4 separate regions of the Homo sapiens genome follow, and all the other regions are linked to region 4. The links are contacts of gene promoters, found by promoter capture Hi-C in blood cells and fetal thymus (Javierre and others, 2016). All regions are on one chromosome and are shown on one strand. The core of a region is centred on a gene start or on the middle of the fragment in contact, and the rest is flanking DNA. Distances in the headings are between cores, read along the strand shown. Region 1 holds the start of METAP1D (methionyl aminopeptidase type 1D, mitochondrial). Region 2 holds the start of FASTKD1 (FAST kinase domains 1). Region 3 overlaps PDK1-AS1 (PDK1 and ITGA6 antisense RNA 1). Region 4 holds the start of GORASP2 (golgi reassembly stacking protein 2).

Region 1 (3,509 bases), core at 672-3,171, 1.1 Mb after region 4:
GTGAGAAGGATGTGTATGAGAGAAGCCAGATCCAGGGTCAGTGGATGAGCTATCACCTGTGCAAGTTCATATTTGCTTCATTTCTAGCTCATCCCAGATATCTACATTCCATGCCGAACTTATTGAGGATTTCCTCACTGGATTCCACTACTGCTGGTGCCACCTGGGTCCTCATAGTGTTTCCTTTTCCTTTTAGTTGTAGGGGAATAAAGCATTCATTTATTTTCCAAGGGTTGGCTGAGTTAAGTCACATGAACATGTGTTCTATTTCAGATGGGTTTGAAACTAGGCTTGATGCCTTAAGGAATAGGGATGTCTAGATTTCTTTTTTCTGTACACTGCTTAAGACTCTGTGGCCAGCTAACTCTCAGGCTCCTTTGCTGCACTCAGATTGCTGGCCTCAGTTACACAGAGGACAGATTTGCCACATTCAAAAATGCTCTCCCTGGAATTGAAATGAGTTTGCAAAAGGTAGGAGTACATTTTATTCTCATTCTTGTGCATCTTATTTACCCTGATGGAAAGCATTACTTCTCTTTATCTTTCAAGGTGACCCAAAAGCATCCAAAACCAGGTTTTCCAGAATTATAGCATGTGTCCTCTAATGAAATGCCAACATTCACTCTCTTTAAAAGTAAAAATATCAAGATTATATAGTCATTAAAAAGAATAAGTCTGAACTAAGTGTTCTAAGATTTGATGCCTATGATGACTGGAATGGAAAAAGCAAGTCATATGATTCTATTTAAAATACTTACATTTGCCTGTGTGTAAAAGGCAAAGATCTCAATTGAGCACACGGTGGTTAACTGGGGAGTGGGACTATGGTATGTACAGAGGGCGAGGAAGGGGCTTGCACTTGTTCCTTATTTCTGAATTGTTCTGAATTGTCTAGATTATTCACTGAGTGTGTAGTGCTTAAAAATTAATTAGAAGACATCACACACATTCACTGAGAATCCTAATCAATCTTCACTGCATTTAAAGTCTGGAAACGGTTACATTCTCAGTTTGACTGGTTTCATGCAGTGTTCAATTGCTTCACCTGACATTCCTCGGGTATCGGGTTCTGTGCCGGGCACGGAGGCTACTAAGATGAATAACACCTGGTCCATGACAGGATGGCATCTACCCCAGAACACAGGTAAGAGAGACAGTGAATTTGGTAAAAATGGGCACCGTCATCAGTAGGCATACATCAGCTCCCTCATCTGATTCACAATTGGCCTTCTGTAGGCTTCTTCTCTTGGCAATGCAATTGGCAGGCGTCATCCTTTTATACTTAAACTCCAAATTTAGGATTAAGACTCCAGTTAATACTGCCAAGCAGAAGGCGTCCTTGGAGAAAGAGAAGTCTCCTGAACATACCCACTGGGGTACCTAGAATAGATTTTGCAGCGACACACAGATCCTGTGTTGTCTGGAGTCTCTGCTGAGTAATGTAGATTCTGGGACAGCAAAAGGGGAGCTGGTGACTTTGAACCAAATTTTACCTTTCAACTGAATCCAGGGGAATAATTTGCAACAGAGTGGCAGACGATACAAAGTGCTATGTTGAACACTAGATTGTGCTTTATTTTTTCCGCCCAACTTCACGTTTCCATGCACCAAAATGTTGATGCTATAAATATTGGATGCCACGCTTACCTGACAGGCTTCTTCCATCCCACCTGGGCGCGGGGGCTCAGAGCGAGCGCGCGAGCCGCGGCTGGAGCCCGCCTCTCGCGGCTGGAGAGGACTCAGCCGGCCGCGGGTTCTGCTGCTTGCCCGGGTGCCCTAGCCGCTTCCCAGCCAGGGCTCCCGCAGTCAGCCCCGCGCGCGCACGCGCGCTCCCCTCGGGCGGCCTCGACGCCTCAGGGCTTCGGCAGGGCTGCGACTGGCCGGCTCCAGCGGGCGGGGCGGCGAGCGAGTGCTCGCGGCCACGTGACCGACGCCAACATGGCGGCGCCCAGTGGCGTCCACCTGCTCGTCCGCAGAGGTAAGCGCGTGGAGGAGAGCCCCGTGAGGGTTCGCACGGTTGCTCACTAGGTACGCACCCGGGTCCAAAGGGATGCGCACCCGCGCTCAGACTTCTCGGCGCACACGACTGTACTTTCAGTGTTTACGAACACACGCAGGCACACACGATGACACATTCACACACCACAGGATCACACATACAAATTTGTTCACTGATCACCCGCCTAGAACACGTCACCACGTGGCATCTTTTCGCAATTACTCCTTGAGATTTGCGGGCCATTGTCTGAAGTTTTTTTCCCCAACTTCGGTTGTATCATTAGTGTAACCAACATTTATTCTGTATGCCGAGCAAGGAAACCTATGGTAATTCTGAAATGCATCTGGACACCCGGTTCCCTTCCCTAGAGCTTTTATGCAGGCATGCTTTTTGGGGACTTGCAAAATGTGATGGTTTTCTTCCAGTGACTTAAAGTTAAGAAGATAAGAAAGGATGTCTGGGTAGTTCTAAGTAGGTTTTATCCTGCGTGAGTGTTGAGATTTTAGTAAATATACAAATGCCTTTGCAGCAGAATTGGGGAAATCTTTGTTGGATTTGAACTAGGTGCTGAATCTTTGTTGGAAAGAACTAGAAAGTTTTTCCAAGGACGGGGGAAGAGGAAAACTATCATATTTTGAGGAGCTACTTAAGCGTCAGGCATGTAGGAACAGTTTTGTGAGGTAAATATTATTTTCATAGTAACAGCTACTGTTTATTAAGTGCCTTTTAAGTACACGATACTGTGTTAAGCGCCTTACATATGCTTGCTTCCTTTTAAAACTCAATGAATGAGACCCCGTCTCTACAAAAAATTTTAAAAATTAGTCGGGCGTGGTGACACATGCCTGTAGTCTCAGCTATTCTGGGGGTTGAGGTGGTAGGATCGCTTGAGCCTGGGAGGTCAAGAGGCTGCAGTGAGCCGTGATCGTACCACTGAACTCCAGACTTGGCAATAGAGCCAGACCCTGTCTCAAAAACAAAAACAAAAACCCAGTGAGTTAGGAATTATTTTCTCTTTGCAGAAGGGAAAAGTAAGGCTAGAGAGGTTAAGTAACATTACTAAGGTCGCATAAATGGTAAGAGGCAGATTGCTCATTTGAACATGACTCTAATTTTTTTTTTTAAGACTCATTTCTCGGTACTGCATGACGTGGTCACTCCATAGAAGTCAGTGTGTAAAGTTCAGCAGAGACAGTGCAGGATGAGTGTGTACAAAAAGTGAAGAGAGCCTGGGCACGGTGGCTCACACCTGTAAACCCAGCACTTTGGGAGGCCGAGGCAGGTGGCTCACTTGAGGTCAGAAGTTCAAGACCAGCCTGGCCAACATGGTGAAACCCCGTCTCTACTAATATACACAATTAGCTGGGCGTGGTGGCGCATGCCTGTAATCCCAGCTACTCGGGAGACTGAGGTAGGAAAATTGCTTTAACCCAGGAGGTGGAGGTTGCAGTGAGCTGAGATCATACCACTACACTCTAGCCTGGGCGACAGAGCGAGACTCCGTCTCAGA
Region 2 (3,475 bases), core at 563-3,062, 1.4 Mb before region 4:
AAACAAAACCATCTGCAACTAGTCGTCAGGTGCAATAAGCAGGGATACAAATAACAGTTTTTCCTTCATGTATTTTGCTTCCATTACAATGACTGTAAACGCATTCCAATGTACAGCTTCTATAAAAGAATTGGTTTAACATGGTTATGCTTACATCATTAATATCAAAATGATTCCAAAATTCAAATTAAAGTAATACATTTTTTCTGCATTAACTAAAGACTTTTTCTTAGTCTAAACCAGATAGCAGAATTTGATCAAAAAATAAATGTCCAGAAAAAGGGGCTTCTTTCTGCACCCCATTTTAAAAGTGTTTTAAATCTGACATTTACATAAAGTTTTCAAATTTACCATAAAAGGAAAAAAAAAGCCCACAAACTCAGAGCTGTCTTTTCGAAAAAGAGGAAAATTGTTTAAAATAAATAATCACCTTCAAAGTTTCTAAAAAGTGTAGGCATTAATTCAGAGCCATATATATTTATACATACATATATATATACTTTTTTTTTTTAATTTTTCAGAAGTATGGTCTCAGGTTTATTTGCTTTCAGGATAATTTCTTGCCCCTTTTTCTTGTGCCCTTAAAGAGCTCAAATAATTCCTTTCTTTAGAAAATAAATAAATAAAAGAAGTCATATAATTTAATCATTACTGGCCTTGGATAGGTTTTAACCAATGAACGACACAATTAAAGCACCAATCAAGAAATACTAAGAAATTAAGTAATGTTTCAAGTCATGCTGAAACAATAAAAGAACTAAAGATAATTATGAAAAAAGAATAATTTGTTTTAAAAATATGCTATAAATGTTTACATTTATAATTGAGAAGTAATGGTTAGAAAAGCAGGGACTAAAGTCATATAATCTAATATTTCTGCAACATGTTACCATTTACAAAGAACGTTTGAAACACATTATCTCATTAAATTCTCTCAGCTAACCTTCCAGGTTGATATTATTTCCATTTTACAGATAAGGCAAAATAGGTTCAAAAAGGTTTAAAAAATCCTTCTAGTACTAGTGAAGCAGGGACTACAACTCAGTTCTTTCCACTTGAACAGCTTCATTACACAAACAAATCAACGCTGTATCACTAAATTCATGTCTCAGACCCCTCTCTACGGCTATGCCAAACAGTCTGTTCACAAGAAAAAACGACGCGACAGTACAGGCTATTTTGTGGCAAGCAGTACAGCATCCTGACCTAAGCTGACCTGGGTCACAAACCTGCACAAGAAAACCCTGCACAAATCAAAGGTATCCTCAAGATACTATATTCATCCACTGAGCTGCTCAAAGTGGAGGCAGCTCAATGGTTAGCATAGAAAGGTGTCGAGTCCCCAGCTTTGCCCCAGCTGAATGACCTTAAGGAAGGAACTTAACTACAGGAAGGGCCTTGGGACCCTAAGGGGTATCTTCTGCGCCGGGCATAAAGGAGAGCTAAACAAATGAGTGAATGAATGGGGTCTCAGCCCTGCCCTAGTCCATCCGCACTTCAGAGAACCCAATATCCCGAAGGAAGCCTCCGTATCTCAACTGAACCCTATGTCCCCAGCCCGAAAACGTGCTGGGTGGGAAAAGAAAAATAGCCGCTGCCACACAGTCCCGACTTGCCAGCAAGGTTTTCCCTCAGCGCGCCGCAAATTTTCTGGAGGATCCTGGGGTTATGAAAGCTCAGAAGTCAGGGTTATTCCTGGTCCCAACACGGAACGAAACAGGCTCGGATGTCTCGCCCAACCCTCATATCTCAGGGTTTATAACCTTTCTTCGAGAGACATGACCTTTCCCATGAGACCTTGCCCCCAAACCAGGAAAAAATGCCCGGCAGGCGCAGCGTGCACTGCGGAAGTCACGCACTACATATCCCAGGGTGGGTCGCGGCGAGGTGGGTGAAATGGACGTCGCTCACGCATTTTGGGGGAATTCTGGGCATTGTAGTTCCTCATTGAGGGAGGCTCTAGCGCAGTACACAGCTTAAGCTGTTGAAGAAGATATAGGTCGTTTAGGTGATTCTCTACTATCTAAGGTTGTTCTCCTAGTCCTTGGAAGTCTACTACTTTTATAATATACACAAAAATATACTTAGGAAAATGAAATTTAAAAATGTAAACATGGAAAAGACACGTACAGATTTTTCTTATTATTTTTTAGCATATACGAAATAACTCTGTCGAGTAACTTTGAAAGTATGCAAACTCATACTCTCAGTTTCTGCACTTATGTCGTGGATAGGTACCAGTTCTCAGACCATATTTTTTTTTTACTTACCATGGTATTTTAATAGTCCCAAGATTTGACACTTGACACTTAAAAAAAAAATACCACTAATAAATAACCAAAGTGGAATGCTTACCAAAGTTACAACAGACATAATTTTCAGCTGATAATCACTACAACAAAGTAAGGCTCTAAAGGTACCAAACTGATATTTGTTGGAATATGCTGTGCAACTTTCTTTTTTTTATTTTATTTATTTATTTTTTTTATTGATCATTCTTGGGTGTTTCTCGCAGAGGGGGATTTGGCAGGGTCGTAGGACAATAGTGGAGGGAAGGTCAGCAGATAAACAAGTGAACAAAGGTCTCTGGTTTTCCTAGGCAGAGGACCCTGCGGCCTTCTGCAGTGTTTGTGTCCCTGAGTACTTGAGATTAGGGAGTGGTGATGACTCTTAAGGAGCATGCTGCCTTCAACCATCTGTTTAACAAAGCACATCTTGCACCGCCCTTAATCCATTTAACCCTGAGTGGACACAGCACATGTTTCAGAGAGCACAGGGTTGGGGGTAAGGTCATAGATCAACAGGATAAGAATTTTTCTTAGTACAGAACAAAATGAAAAGTCTCCCATGTCTACTTCTTTCTACACAGACACAGCAACTTTCCGATTTCTCAATCTTTTCCCCACCTTTCCCCCTTTTCTATTCCATAAAACCGCCATTGTCATCATGGCCCGTTCTCAATGAGCTGTTGGGTACACCTCCCAGACGGGGTGGTGGCCGGGCAGAGGGGCTCCTCACTTCCCAGTAGGGGTGGCCGGGCAGAGGCGCCCCTCACCTCCCGGACAGGGCGGCTGGCGGGGCGGGGGGCTGACCCCCCCACCTCCCTCCCGGACGGGGCGGCTGGCCGGGCGGGGGGCTGACCCCCCCACCTCCCTCCCGGGCAGGTCGGCTGGCCGGGCGGGGGGCTGACCGCCCCCACCTCCCTCCCGGGCGGGGCGGCTGGCTGGGCGGGGAGCTGACCGCCCCCACCTCCCTCCCGGACGGGGCGGCTGGCCGGGCGGGGGGCTGACCCCCCCACCTCCCTCCCGGGCGGGGCGGCTGGCCTGGCGGGGGCTGACCCCCACCTCCCTCCCGGAGAGGGTGGCTGCCGGGTGGAGACGCTCCTCACTTCCCTGACGGGGCGGCTGCTGGGCGGAGGGGCTCCTCACTTCTCAGACGGGGCGGCTGCCGGGCGGAGGGTCTCCTCACTTCTCAG
Region 3 (3,088 bases), core at 86-2,585, 1.6 Mb after region 4:
TCTGACACCTTTTTAGGTCTGATAAGAGACATTTACTATCTGTTCTCTCTGAAGCCTGCTATGTGGGACCTTTATCTGTGTAATAAGAATCTTGGTCTCCACAACCCCTTGTCTTAATCCAGACACTCCTTTCAATTGATCCTAGGTCTTGAGATAGTAACTTAACTCTTTCAACCAATTGCCAGTCAGAAAATCTTTGACTCTCCCTATAACCTGGAAGCCCCCTCCTGCCACAAGTTTCCCAATCCCCCTATATTACGTCTTAAAGTTGTCCTGCCTTTTCAGACCAAAGCAGTGTACGCTTTACATGTACTGAGTGATGTCTGCCTGCAACTTCTGTTCCCCTAAAACTGTACACAATCAAGCTATGACCCGACCACCTTGGGCACATGTTTTCAGGACCTCTTGGGACTGTGCCTCAGGCCTTGGTCACTCACATTTGGCTCGGAATAAATCTCTTAAAATATTTTACAGAGTTTGAGTCTTTTTTTTAAATCAACAGTTCAAATAAATTTTTAAAACTTTTAATGTGCCCAAATTTATCTTTTAACATTACCAGTCTCAGTTTGTGAAAGTCTAGAGTTCTCCCTGTCCATGTCTGTAAATTCTTGAGGCTCATAGTCTCATTTATAGTACCCCCCACCCCACCACCACTCAGACTCTTTGTGTGCAAAGTCTATCTCCATTGCCACAAACTCTCATAAAAAAAATTCATCCTTTCCTCCAATTTTCACAAAAGCACAACACATAAAAGCTTCAGTATCCAATAATCTCTCTTTTTTTGCAAACTTTACTGAAGGTTTGGGTTATAAGGAGTGCTCACATTGTGAACAGTCTTTGCAATCTTCTGCCTCCTCCCCTTCCCCTTTGCTCTACAAAGTGAATTCCTCTCCTTGCTTCCTGTAAAGCTGTTCTGAGCCTTCCCTACAGATCTCTCCTTCCACTCCATCAGCATTTCAAAGCACTTACTCCAGATAAAAACTATGTTTGTGCTAAATAAATCCTGGTGAATAGGATGCCCTCATATCACTACACAAGTAATTACCTGAATCAAAGTACCCTTTAAAGAAAGAAGGCAAATGTATATGGAGAAAAATTATGCTTCAGTGGAATATTACGTATTGTTTAGAGCACAACTTTTCAGGGTATCTGATTCCAATTCACTGTCTTTGAGCTATTTTACAACTCTGTAAATTGCAGATAAATGGTAACAACGCACATAATTCTTACCTATACATGTGCAAATAAATTCTGTCAGGTAGAAGGGCAACCCTCCCTGATTCCCAAGGAAAGAGCCAGTTTTACAGCCTTTGCAAATTTTTCTGAATTCCTGTTTTTTCACTTCTCCTTTGAACTGGCTATAATATCTTTACTGGTTCCCTCATTTAATTAATGTATTAAATAAAATTTTTGACACATGTTCATTTTATAGCTGCATGAGAGTCATTATTTTACCTTTTTTGAAAATTATCTTTCCAGCATATCAAAAAGGGTTCTAGGGCAGGAAATGATAGCACACTCAAAAGGGAAATTGATTAATTAATTAATGAAGGGACTATTTACAGGAGTGTGGGCAGAATTAAACCTCCAGGGCTGGTGAGCACCCAATCAGCAACAGAGAAAAATTAGTACTATCTCTATGGATACTGGACAAGGGTAGGAAGCTATGGCCACACTTAGAGGAACACAAATTATAGCTTGGAAGAAAAGAAGCAGGGGGAAAAAATATGACTTTTCTTTCCTTTTGTCTTCTGAACCTCATGAAGCCAGAGGGTACTGGGGACAAGGTGACACAGTCTAGCTTGTTTTGTATTGCTTTTTCCATTCCTTTCAGTCACATCAGTCCAACATGGATCACAAATTCTCAGTGAATTTACAGGGGCTGGCTCATGTCTGCTATGTAAAAATTTTTTTATAGAAGCTTACAGTATGATTACACTTTATATCTACATGTGTGTCTTAGTCTGTTAGTGGTGCTGTAACAAAATACAGTCTGGATAATTTATAAATGACAGAAATTAGTTTTCTTACAGTTCTAGAGGCTGTGAAGTTCAAGATCAAGATGCCGGAACTCAGTGTCTCATAAGGGCTTTCTTGCTGTGTCCTCATGTAACCATCCAATAGGTTTTTCTTGCCTGCTGACCAGATAGAGCCAATTTATCAAGACAAAGAGTTTAGTGCATGTGGAGCTGGCTAAACAGAAGATGAGTTTTATTACTACTCAAATTAACCTCCTGAAAATTCAGAGGCTAGGGTTTTTTTATAGTTTGGCAGACAGCAGGCTATAGAATGGGGAATGCTGATTGGTTGGGTCAGGAATAAAATTATAGGGAGTCGAAGCTGTCATCTTATGCTGAGTCAGTTTCTGGAGGGGGCCACAAGACCAGATGAGTCATTTTACTTATCTGTGTGGTTCCAGCTGGTCCACTGGAATTCAGGATTTGAAAAATAACTCAAACACCAATGTTAGGTTTTATAATAGCAATGTTATCTATAGGAGCAATTGTGGAGGTTGGTGATCTTGTGGACTCTGGCTGCATGACTCCTGAGCTATAATTTCTAATCTTCTAGTTAATTTGTTAGTTTACTTATTTTTTGAGACAAGGTCTCGCTCTGTCACACAGGCAGAAATGCAGTGGCAGGATCTTGGCTCACTGCAAACTACACCTCCTGGGCTCAAGTGATGCTCCCCACGAAGCACTACAGGCAAGTGCCACCATGCCCAGCTAATTTTGTTCATTTTTTGTAGAGACAAGGTCTATGTTGCCCAGGCTGGTCTCGAACTCCTGGACTTACACAATCCTCCCATTTTGGCCTCCCAAAGTGCTGGGATTACAGGCATGAGCCATTGTGCCCTGCCTAATCTGTTAGTTTAACAAAGGTGGTCTGGTCCCCAGGAAAGCTGGGGATTTGTTTCATGGAAGAGCTCTTATCATCTTTGTTTCAAAGTTTGTAATCTAAATTCCTCCCAAAGTTAGTTTGGCCTATGCCCAGGAATAAACAAGGGCAGCTTGGAAGTGAGAAGCAAGATGGAGTTGGTTAGGTCAGATCTCTTTCACTGTCAAAATTTTCTCACTGTTATAATTTT
Region 4 (3,128 bases), core at 141-2,640:
CACCCAGAGATCACCACTGTAACCCTTGGTTCATATTCTCCTCCCACATCTTCATATGCATACATACATATTAATCTGTATTTTGAGGACATGTTTTTCATTTTGTCTACAGACACATCCCGTCTTGTAACCAGCTTTTAAAAAAGACAATAATTTCCACGTTTCCATGTGAATAACTACTCTTCTAATACTCAGTACATATTCAAATTTCTCCAAATGAACCAAAAATGTCCTTTACGCTTATTTCTCCAAGTTGGCCCCCAACTCAAGCCCTTGCAATGTGTCTCTTGGTTATATTCTTCGGGTTCCTTTTAATCTGGCATAGGCCCTTTCATAGGACTCTGACTCGACAAAGAGAACTGGCCAGCTGTCCTGAAGGAAGGCCCACTTCCTGTATTTGCCTGGTTCCCTGTGGTGTCATTTTACTTGCTCCTCAATTCCCCTTACTTCCTGTAAACATCAAACTCAAGATGCCATAGAGGCAAGTTAACCACCTTGGGCTAGAATACTTCATGGGCGATAGCACGTACTTTACATTGCATCACATAGGAATCCACATAATACCTGGTTGACGCAACATCAGTCCAACTGACCACAAAGCAACTAGGGGTTTCAGAGGGAGTACACGTAAGGGGCAAAAGCAGCAACGGAATACGACAACGGAATAAGCATGAATACGACCTGGCTACCTGAAGGAGGTAGGACGGGGAACCGAGCAGCAGCAGGTGGTGGAATGCCAGGGAAATCCAACCGTGCTTCCCACGCTGGCATCGCTCTGATTATGACCAATCCTCTAATCTTATTCTCACAATTAGGGAGGAAGAAAAAAAAACAAACCCAAACCAAAAAAGAAGTTGGTAGGTGACTCTGTGAGACTACTGTTTTATAAAGGGAGCGTTTCCTTTTATAAAATTTAGCTGAGCAGATGCTAGGCAGCCCACAGGAGGCCACTATTCCCCTCAGCTGTACAGTTTGGGAAAATACCTACACACCCGGAGAACAGAGAGCTTGGTGTGTGTTGAGTTCGCTCCTGTTCATCAGCAGCCCTTTCCCCGCCTCTGGCCACCAGGGGGACCTGCAACCAAGTATGTGTTCTTTCAGGCGAGCGGGAACGCGTCTGCATAAATCTAGTCCAATCCAGGGCCCCGTAGCAAGGCGCCAAAGCTGGGGGAAGCGCATTTCTGTTCTCTCGCGAGCACGACGCGGTGCCTCCCAGTCCTCCTCCGGCCCTCCCTCTCCGCCCTCCCGGCCCGCGAGCGCTCGGGCCCCTTCCAGTGGCTCGCGGCAGGTGGCGCTGTCTGCGGCGTCGCAGCGGCCCGGGCTGCAGCAGAGACGATCTCCCGGCGGGCTGTGCGGCCCGGCTCTCCGGCGGCAGCGAGTGCCACGTCCCAAGTGCTACGCGGAGGATTAGAGCAGGCGGTGCGCTGGGGGCGGGAGCAGCGCGGAGCCCGGCTCGGCCACACCGATCGCCCGCCGCCATGGGCTCCTCGCAAAGCGTCGAGATCCCGGGCGGGGGCACCGAGGGCTACCACGTTCTGCGGGTAAGGGCTCCGACGGCGGCCGGGGAGCTGCGGGCTGGAGGCGGGGCCGGCCGCGGGGAGGCGGAGGCCCCCATGGGCTCCTTCACGGGGCAGCCAGGCCCGATCCCGCGAAGGAGCGGCGGTCGCGGGCGCTGCCTTGGTCGAGGCTGGTTCCGGAGGCCGCTCGCATCCCACCTCCGCGGAGCGCCCTGGGCACGGGGTCCGCGGCTGTAGGAGGACGGGCTGGAGCTGGAGGCGGCTGCCGGCGACTCGGCCAGGGGGCGGCCCTGGGAAGGGGGGACAACCTTGCTCTTTTTCCGCACGGCCTTCTCTCTCCTCCACCCCCCCTCATTTTTAGCTTCCAAAGTTAGGAAGGGCGCGGAGGCAACGTCTCCAAAGTGGTGACTGTGAAGGCAGCCTTTGCGCTTTCCTAGGAGAGGGATCCGGACCCGCAGTCCGGAGGCGGGGCCTGCGGCGGCAGGTGTTAAATCACCTCGGCGCCGGCCGAGTGGCCTGAAAGACCAGCAGGGCAGGAGACGGAAAACCAAATGGCCTGGAAGTAGGTTCGACGGACTTAAACAGACTTGATTTTGACCAGACTTTTCCTTTCCCGTGCCACTCCTGACCCTCCCAAACCTTCTCAAGATTTCCTGGAGTGGGAACTTCCGTTCTGTTCCGATTGCTGAGGGTGTGGTTTAGATTATAAGGTTTAGATCCACAGTGGTAAAGAGGTAGTGCAGAGAAATTTTTTTTAAAAATCGGAGTATATAAAGGAAAACAACCCTAGCTTAACTTCCAGGACGCAGAGAAACATAGTATCTCAAAAGGCGTCAGCTAAGCCCCTACCTATGAACGGCCTGGGCCTGGGTGGTACAAAGCATGTGGTCTTTTCCTCATGGAACCGGGCGACTTTAGAAGTAGCATTGATGGTTGTTTGCTGTGACACCTGTGTGAGTGTTAACATGAACAGTCAACAGAGTGGCCGCAGCGTGTAGCGCCATTTAGGGGTGTAATAGAGTGTCACTCAATATTAGCTCCTCACAGGCAAGAACGTTTTCACTGAAAGTAAGAGAGTGCACTTCCTGGTGCTACCTTCATTTCCTGCCCTGGGTCCCATGTTTTAGGTGAGACACATTCTTAAATTGCCCAGCTGTCTATGTGATAGGGCTGAGACAGATCATCTTTCTGATCTTCCGGATTATCGTGTCTATTGCCTTTCCATTACACTAAAAATCCCTCCTCTGCCATACTCTTAGTAGGAAAGGGTGATTTTTTTTTTCCCCGAAAGGAAAAGGGAGCCTATAAATAAACCGTATTATCTTCCTATCCCCTTCTGCTAACCAAACACCCAAGAGCCACACTGAGAGAGGAAATGGAAGGAGAATTGTCAGTTCCCAAATGTGAGGTGAAAGCTGTGCTTTTCTTTCTATTATCTGGTCTGATTTTGAGTTCTCTACCCTGGGATGTTACCCAGTATTACCAGCTGTTTCTCACAGTGACCGATTGTGGTCATGAATCCTTGGGGATTCATGATATTTTTATAATACATGCACTCAGGGAAACTCAGTAAAACACATTAGTGTTAATAAGCAAAAAAAAAAAAAAAAA

Evidence for each region. The method cuts DNA at HindIII sites, captures the fragments that hold promoters and counts their contacts. A CHiCAGO score of 5 or more calls a contact.
Region 1: the fragment with the promoter of METAP1D here is called in contact with the fragment with the promoter of GORASP2 in region 4 in 1 of 17 cell types (total B cells); the score reaches 10.5 in total B cells.
Region 2: a contact is called between the fragment with the promoter of FASTKD1 here and the fragment with the promoter of GORASP2 in region 4, in 4 of 17 cell types (naive CD4 T cells, monocytes, fetal thymus and 1 more). The highest score is 8.7, in naive CD4 T cells.
Region 3: a contact is called between a fragment that was not itself captured here and the fragment with the promoter of GORASP2 in region 4, in 1 of 17 cell types (total B cells). The highest score is 5.0, in total B cells.

The regions. Positions count from the first base shown.
Region 1 is chr2:171,998,032-172,001,540 of GRCh38, forward strand. It overlaps METAP1D (methionyl aminopeptidase type 1D, mitochondrial), which reads left to right and starts at 1,922. Exons shown (of 10, transcript NM_199227.3): 1 at 1,922-1,978. The coding sequence starts at 1,939. It overlaps LOC124905590 (a long non-coding RNA gene), which reads right to left and starts at 1,878. Exons shown (of 3, transcript XR_007087296.1): 1 at 1,648-1,878. RefSeq lists a silencer at 1,617-1,916. The HindIII fragment of the contact is 8,153 bases long and covers 1-3,509 here.
Region 2 is chr2:169,572,053-169,575,527 of GRCh38, forward strand. FASTKD1 (FAST kinase domains 1) reads right to left here and starts at 1,813. Exons shown (of 15, transcript NM_024622.6): 1 at 1,617-1,813; 2 at 1-119. RefSeq lists enhancers at 1,395-1,564, 1,420-2,022, 1,925-2,024. The HindIII fragment of the contact is 12,279 bases long and covers 1-3,475 here.
Region 3 is chr2:172,550,574-172,553,661 of GRCh38, forward strand. The region is part of intron 1 of PDK1-AS1 (PDK1 and ITGA6 antisense RNA 1); the gene reads right to left. Among named protein-coding and RNA genes, the nearest start is that of PDK1, 4.0 kb to the right of the region's middle. RefSeq lists an enhancer at 2,248-2,542 and a silencer at 2,248-2,542. The HindIII fragment of the contact is 1,167 bases long and covers 753-1,919 here.
Region 4 is chr2:170,927,863-170,930,990 of GRCh38, forward strand. It overlaps GORASP2 (golgi reassembly stacking protein 2), which reads left to right and starts at 1,391. Exons shown (of 10, transcript NM_015530.5): 1 at 1,391-1,541. The coding sequence starts at 1,479. RefSeq lists a silencer at 1,170-1,869. The HindIII fragment of the contact is 11,137 bases long and covers 1-3,128 here.